Regions from separate parts of the Homo sapiens genome. Here region 1 is linked to region 2. The links are contacts of gene promoters, found by promoter capture Hi-C in blood cells and fetal thymus (Javierre and others, 2016). All regions are on one chromosome and are shown on one strand. Each heading gives the region's core, a stretch centred on a gene start or on the middle of the fragment in contact. The rest is flanking DNA. Distances are from core to core; before and after follow the strand shown. Region 1 overlaps STK32B (serine/threonine kinase 32B). Region 2 holds the start of STK32B (serine/threonine kinase 32B).

Region 1 (3,839 bases), core at 1,246-3,745, 96 kb after region 2:
TGATAAATGGTGGGATAAGGCCTGGCAAGACTCATGATCTTGCATGACACTCATTCTTCTTGGAAACTGTACAGCTCTGGGCTTAGCACTGACATTGTCTTTGTATTTTCTCTAAGTCTGTGTCTTGTCTGGTTATTGGAAGTTTGTGTGGAGTTTATATAAAATCAGGCAGCTTAGGTTCATTTGTTAATTCACTCATTCACTCATCCATCCATCCATCCATCCATCCATCCATCCATCCATCCATCCATCCAACATACGGAGGACCAATTTGCTCTGGGCCCTATTCTAGGTACTGAGGTTACAAAAGTAAACCAGATATGGTGCCTGCCTTTGAGGATCTCTCAGATACATGCAGGAGGCAGAGTAATAAACAGTCAACTATAGTCCACTCTGAAAAGCATGGTAGGGGAGGAACACTCATAGTTTATGGGTGTACAGGGATGGAGTGGAGGATGCCTAATTCAAACTTCAAAAGCTGTGATGCCCTTGCTGTCAAGGGCAGGGTTGACTGCATACCCATATGATTTTTTTCTCATTATTTTAGTATGAAAACATGCAAATACGCAGTGAAGGTGAAAGAATTTTACATTAAGCACCAATGTCTTCCACCTCCATTCCCAATTAACATTCTACCAAACTTATTTTATGAAATACCTATCCTTCTACCCACACATCAATCCATCTTATTTTTTGATGCATTTTATAGCAAATTGCAAATATTTGTACATTTCTCCTTAAATATTTCAGCCTAGAGATTTGCCTGTAGTTTTTCTTTTGATGTAAAATGTACATACAACAGAATGAACACATCTTAAACTTACATTTATTGACTTTTGAGAAATAAATGCATCTGAGTAACCTAAACCCATACCAAAATATAGAATATCACCATCCAAAAGTCCCCTCTTGACCCTTTACTGTCAAAACCTCTCTCAAAGTCAACTACTCCATCCATTATAGATTAGAGTTGCCTGTTCTAAAATTTAGTATAAAATGGGATCATGCAATATATAGTCTTTTGTTTAAAGCTTCATAATGTTTTACATTTTATATAAATTTTTCAGCATAATGTTTTTGAGATTCATTTGTATTGCATTTTTTGCTATTGTTTAAAAAATGGGTTGTTTGTCTTATTTAATTGTGGGATACATATCTGGATACCAGTCTTTTGTCAGACATGAGACTGTTTTCAACCAGACTGGTTTACCTGTTAATTTTATTAGTGGTGTGTTTTGATACATGAAAGTTTTCTATTTCGATAAGATCCAATTTGTTGAGTGCTTTTGCTTTTAGGGCCATTGTTTTATGCCATTTGTATAAGAAAACCTGGCTCACCAAAACATACTCAATTCACAGAGATATTTTTCTATGTTTACTTTCTAAAAGTTTTATAGAGTTAGCTTATAAATTTAGTTCTATACTTCATTTTGATTTGATTTTTTGTGTGGTGTGAGGTAGGGTCAAGTTGTTTTTTTTTTTTTCCCTAGTATGGACATCAGTTTCTTGAAAATGATTTCTTTTGTTTATTGGATTGTGTACGACGATTGTCTAGAGGGACAGAATTAATAGGATATATGTATATATGAAGGGGAGTTTATTAAGGAGAATTGCCTCACATGATCACAAGGTGAAGCCCCACCATAGGCCGTCTGAAAGTTAAGGAGCAAGGAAGACAGTAGTGGCTCAGTTCGAGTCCCAAAACCTCAAAACTAGGGAAACCGAAAATGCAGCCTTCAGTCTGTGACCGAAAGCCTGAGAGCCCCTGGCAAACCACTGGTGTAAGTCCAAGAATCCAAAAGCCGAAGAATTTGAAGTCTGATGTTGTAGGGCAGAAAGCATATCCAGCACAGGAGGAAGATGAAGGCTGGAAGAATCAGCAAGTCAGTTTCTTGCACCTTCTTCTGCCTGCTTTTTCTAGCTGGACTGGCAGCCGATTGGATGGTGCCTACCCGTGTTGCAGGTGGGTCTTCCTGAGGATGGGTCTTCTCTCCCAGTCCACTTAATCAAATGTCAGTCTCTTATGGCAACACCCTCACAGACATACCCAGATACATCCAGAACCAATACTTTGCATCCTTCAATCCAGTCAAGCTGACATTTAATATTAACCATCACAGATTGCTTTGGGGTTCATATGAAAAATTAGATGATTTGTATGTCTTCTTCTGTACTCTCGGTTTTGTACATTTGACCTATTTGTTGATCCTTATGCAAGTACTAGTCTGTCTTAATTACTGCAGGTTTCTGGTGTGTCTTAAAATCAGGTAGTATAAGTCCTCCACATTTATTCTTTTTCAAGATTGTTTTGGATATTCTAGATCATTGATTTTCATACAAATTTTGGAGTTGCTTATCAATTCTACAAAAAACTGTGGAATTACAATTGGTCAAATCTGTATATCAATTTGGAAATAATTATATCTTAAGAGTAGGGAGTCTTCTAATCCATGGACATGGTATATCTCTTTATTTATCTCTATTTTTATTAGGTATTTAAAAGTCTATTTTAGTGATGTTTTGTCATTTTTAGGGTAGAGGCTTTGCCCTTTTTTGCACTAATGTTTTTCCCAAATAGTTGATGAAGTTTTTTGGGGGTACGGGGGACAGGGGGAAGACACTATTGTAATGAAATTGTTTTTAATTTAGTTTTTAATTGTTTACTAGTAGGTATAAAAATACAATAAAATTTTTGTATCTTAATCTCACACCCTGAGACCTTGCTAATTAAATAATTAGTTGTGATAGTTGTTTTGTAGTATTCTGGAGATTTTCTGTCAACAATCATTCTATTTGCTAATAAAAGTAGTTTTACCTATTCTCCCCTTTATTTATGCTTTTTAAATCTTTATTGCAGTAGCTAAAACCCTCGGTACAATATTGAGGAGAAGTGGTGGGAGCAAGCATCATTGTTTTGTTCTTAATTTTAGGGGAAAAAGTGTTCAGTCTTTCTTCATTAAGAACATCTTTACCTGTAAGTTTTTCAGAGATGCTCTTTATCAAATTGAGCAGCTCCTTTTTAGTTGTAGTTTTCTGTAAGTGTTTATCATGTCTTGCTGAATTCTATCAAATACTTTTTGTGCATTGGTTGAAATGATCATATTTTTTCTCCATATTTTGTTACTATGCTAAATTACATTAATTTCCAAATTTTAAACCAACTGTGTATTACTGAGATAAATCCCACTTGAATATGATACCTTATTCTTTTTATGTTTTATTGAATTGGATTTGCCAATATCTTATTAGAGAATTTTACATCACATTCATAAGGAATATTAGTCTGCTTTTTTGTAATATCTTCATCAAATTTGTTTTCAGGGTTATAGTAGTCTCAAAAATGAGTTCAGTCATTTTCCTTCTCTGTTTTCTGAAAGCACTTGTGTAAAGTTGGTGTCACTTCTTTAAATGTTTGATAGGTTTTACAAATGAAGTTATCTGGGTATAGAGTTTTCTTTCTAGTAAGGCTTTTGACTACAAAATTACCTTCTTTAGTAGATATAAGGCACTCAGATTTTGTGTTTTTTCGTATATAACTTTTGGTAAGTTATATTTTTCAAGAAATTAATCAATTTTCTCTATGTTGGCAAATTTGTTGGCACAAAGTAATTCATGATATTATCATAGGATCTTCTTAATTTTTGTAGTGTCTGTGGTTGTAACTTCTCTTTCATTTCTGATATTAGCAGTTTGCCTTCTTTCTCTTATTTTCTTCATCAGTTTATAATCTTAGCTCTTCAAGATAGAACCTTAGGTCATTGATTTTAGACATTTTGTTCTAATATAAGCATTTTAAGCTATAAATTTTCCTCTAAGGACTGCTTAAGTTACACCCCCAA
Region 2 (4,023 bases), core at 1,188-3,687:
GCCGTGTGGAACATCTCCCAGCATCTGCAAAGTGTCCCACTCTCTAGGCCTGGAGAACTTTGCACCAGTAGCCTCCTTTCTTCTTCCAACCCGGTTGATTCCTTGCCCTTCCAGTCTCAGCGCCAGCACCCTCTCTGGCCAATGCCTTCTTTTCTTTTGTTTTTTTTTTTTTGAGACGGAGTCTCACTCTGTCACCCAGGTTGGAGTGCAGTGGCACAATCTCAGCTCACTGCAACCTCCGCCTCCCAGGTTCAAGGGATTCTCCCACCTCAGCCTCCCGAGTAGCCGGGATTACAGGTGGGTGACATTTCTGTCATGCGTGTCCGTGTGAAGAGACCACCAAACAGGCTTTGTGTGAGCAATAAAGCTTTTTAATCACCTCAGTGCAGGCGGGCTGAGTCCGAAAAGAGAGTCAGCGAAGAGAGATATGGGTGGGGCAGTTTTATAGGATTTGGGTAGGTTATGGAAAATTAAAGTCAAAGGGGTTCTCTGGGAGGCAGGGGCGAGGGTCACAAGGTGCTCAGTCGGGAGCTTCTGAGCCAGGAGAAGGAATTTCACAAGGTAATGTCATCAGTTAAGGCAGGAACAGGCCATTTTCACTTCTTTTGTGATTCTTCAGTTGCTTCAGGCCATCTGGATGTATATGTGCAGGTCACAGGGGTTATGATGGCTTAGCTTGGGCTCAGAGGCCTGGCAATCACACCCAGCTAAGTTTTGTTTTTTTAGTACAGATGGGGTTTCTCCATATTGGCCAGGCTAGTCTCAAACTCTTGACTTCAGGTGATCCACCCGCCTCAGCCTCCCAAAGTGCTGGGATTACAGGTGTGAGCCCCCACGCCCGGCCTAGCACAATATCAATATATTCCTCATAACAATGTTAGAAAGGGAAAGTTCTCTTATTAGCACCTTCTGGACTCAGATGAAGAAACTGAGTCCAGAACAGGTTAAGTAATTTATCCAAGTTAACTGGCTAATGAGGGGCAAAGCAGAATGAAACCTGGGTAGAATGAGCCCAGAGCCCATGCCTGTCCACATTCCGCCCTATGCTTCTTGAGCTAGGGGCCAGCTCTGTGTTCAGGGCATTGCCTGCTGCACACTGGCTACTCAGTGTATGCTTGTTGGTGGAATGAAAGGCAAGAAATATTTATTCATCATTTATTATATGCCGGGCACTGTTGCCTGCTTTTATAAATATTACCTGATATAATTCTCACAGACAACCCAAGGAGTTAATATCAATCAGCCCACTTTGCAGATAAGAACTCCAAAGTGGGACACATTGCCAGTAAATGGTAGAGCCAGCTCTGGGTCATGGTGGGTGGGCCTGCCTCAGACCTTCTCAGTTCTTTCCCACTGCCTTTAAGAGATTTTTTGTTTTGTTTTGTTTTGTTTTGTTTCTGTATGAGTCTCCCCGGCTTCCCTCACCCTTCTCCCAAGAAAAAGAAAGAAGGGGAGAGAACTGGAGAGAGAGACCAGGTAGGGGACGGGGACTGGGGGACGAGATAGGATGGAGAGAGTCACAAAGAACCCCTGCTTTCTATCAAAGCACGGACAGTGGTTCCAGGCGCCCAGCAGATGGCAGGATGTAGCCAAAGATTCCCTGCAGTCCCGGAGAGCTGGGCCCGCAGGACTGCAAGGCAGGGGGACCTGCCTGTCCCTCAGGGAGCGTCCTGGGAACCCGCGCTCGCCCCACACGTCTTGGGGCGCATCTGCCGCACCCCTTACTTAGGCACCCGCAACTGTGGCGCGTATCTCCCGATCCAGGCTCCCGCCGCAGGAGCCCAGGGACCCTCATGCTAGCCTCGCCCCTAAATCGGACGCCGATGCCGCCCAATTTTGGGGGAATCCCGAGACTCATGCCCAGCCATTCCCAGGGAGAATGGTTTGGGGCAAACTATGGCTGTCTGGGGCCTCAGTTTCCCCATGTACAATGAAGGGGTCAGATTAGTATCTAATCTTAAGGGGTCAGAAAGTAAACAGATACTTTCATTCATTAAACACTGAGAAAAACCTTAAGAGGAACAGCGTCGGTTGGAGAGCCAGCAGACACTCCACTGCCCATCCCAATATGAATGGGCAAATACAGGCTAGCGGGGAGTCCTGGGACTCCCTTCGCAGCCGGGGCCGACTAACCACAGACCTAAGAGCCCCTCTACCTCTAGACCTCCGTCTACTGCGCTCTAAAATATGAACGATGCTTTCTTACTGCTGGGTTGTCGGAGGCGGATGTGGGATGGTGCTAACAAAGCGCGTAGCCGAGGCCTGGCCATAGTGGGTGCTGACAAACCGCTTACTGCCTGCAGGGACCGAGCTCCCGGCCGAGGGAGGAGGGCCGAGCAGGGATTCAGATTCTTCCGGGCCGATCCCTTTCTCAGCTCCTTCCGCCCTGCCGCCGCCCACTGCGTGCTGCCTTCGTCCGTCCCCTCCTCCCCCGCTCCTTCCCCTCCTTCCCCTGCTCCCGCGCCGCCTCGCGTCTCCCGCCCGCTGTAGCCGGCGAGGAGCGCCGCACGTTGGCCCCGGCGCGAGGAGCTCCCGGGTTCCCGGGCGGGCACTGGAGTAAGGAGCTGCGAGCGCAGCCCGAGGCGGGGCACGGCGGAAGGCGCGGCGAGAGCGGGGTCCCTGCGAGCGCAGTCGGAAGGGCGTCCAGGAGAAGGGGGACGCCGTCCCCGCCCCTGCACGGTGCTCGGCCCCCTCGGGCTCCGCGCGCGGCTACAACCCGGACTGGGCGCGCCCCCGGCATCCCGCATCTCTGCGCGCGTCCCACATCCCGCATCCGGCATCCCAGCGGCCGGGCATGTAGCAGCGGCAGCAACGGCGGAATATGGGCGGGAACCACTCCCACAAGCCCCCCGTGTTTGACGAGAATGAGGAAGGTAAGAGAGCGAGAGGTGCGAATTCCCGCTTCGCGGGGCATCCCCTTCCTCCACCACCCTCGGCCGAGCCCTGCGGGGCACCGCATGCTGCCCGGCGCGGGGACCCAGGCATGGCCACTTCGCCCAGCGAATGCAGTGTGTGCCCGACCCGTGCCAGGCGCGGCGCTTCTGCTGAGGCAACTCCTAGGTACCCAGTGCCGTTTAGTAGTCGGGACGGTGCCTAGCGCGGGACTGGGGAGGCGGCTTCAGAGAGTTGAACCCGAAACCTGCACTTGGGGGTGTGGAAGGGAGGAGTTGACTTCGGAGGCCAGTCGGGATGGTTCTAGGCTCGGGCTCCCCAGGAAACCGAGGTTTCCTTGAGAGCCTGAGGCTGACGGAGGTGGCCTGGAAGGGCGGGTTGCACCGTGTGTCTGTGTGTGTGTGCGCGTGCCCACGACGCATTTGGTCTCGTGCAAGGGCCTGTTGGATGCAGCTCTCCTCAATCACCCAGGACAGAGGGAAACTTTTCTTTGCTAAACTCTGTGGTTCCTAGGAGGGCGTCCTGTTCTGGGCAGCCTCCCCCTGGCGCAGAAGTGGTGTAGGCTGTCCAACCGCATCTCAACTTCCTGGCTGGATCCTTGCGGTTCAGGTCGATAGAGCTCCCTATTTGGACTAGCAGAACCCTCTTTCCAGTGCAGCGTGTCCCTGGAAAACTTACTTCACCTCTCTGAAACATTAGTCCCTTCATCAATGAAATGTGAGTTATGATACCACTAGCTACTTTATAGGGTTGTTTGAAGCTTAACCACTAGTAATCCACGTGAAAAGTGCCTTATAAATGCAAGCAGTACCGAGCTGTGCCGTTTTTTATGTTAAGAGCCCTCTGCCTCTCAAAGCTGGTTTCCTACTGTGCTGACTCGCCAGTCTCCACTGTGCCCCAGGTAAGAGCTGAGACATACTGAGCACTTACTATGTTCCAGCCATGCTAGCACATAGTGTTCACTCCATCCTTTTCATGCCCCTTGAGGTGGCTACCTTAGAAAGGGGTCTGTCCTGGTTACTGCTGGTAAGAAGTAGAGCTGGGCTTGAGGCAGGACAGTCTGCTTTGAAAGCTGTGCCTGTCATCATTACCCAGGGCACTGGCTGTGTGCGTACATCATGGATGGCTTCT

Evidence for each region. The method cuts DNA at HindIII sites, captures the fragments that hold promoters and counts their contacts. A CHiCAGO score of 5 or more calls a contact.
Region 1: a contact is called between a fragment that was not itself captured here and the fragment with the promoter of STK32B in region 2, in 2 of 17 cell types (monocytes and M2 macrophages). The highest score is 6.7, in monocytes.

Annotation. Positions count from the first base shown.
Region 1 is chr4:5,144,581-5,148,419 of GRCh38, forward strand. The region is part of intron 2 of STK32B (serine/threonine kinase 32B); the gene reads left to right. Among named protein-coding and RNA genes, the nearest start is that of STK32B, 95 kb to the left of the region's middle. The HindIII fragment of the contact is 2,933 bases long and covers 1,030-3,839 here.
Region 2 is chr4:5,049,043-5,053,065 of GRCh38, forward strand. STK32B (serine/threonine kinase 32B) reads left to right here and starts at 2,438. Exons shown (of 12, transcript NM_018401.3): 1 at 2,438-2,873. The coding sequence starts at 2,822. RefSeq lists an enhancer at 3,140-3,678. The HindIII fragment of the contact is 3,285 bases long and covers 366-3,650 here.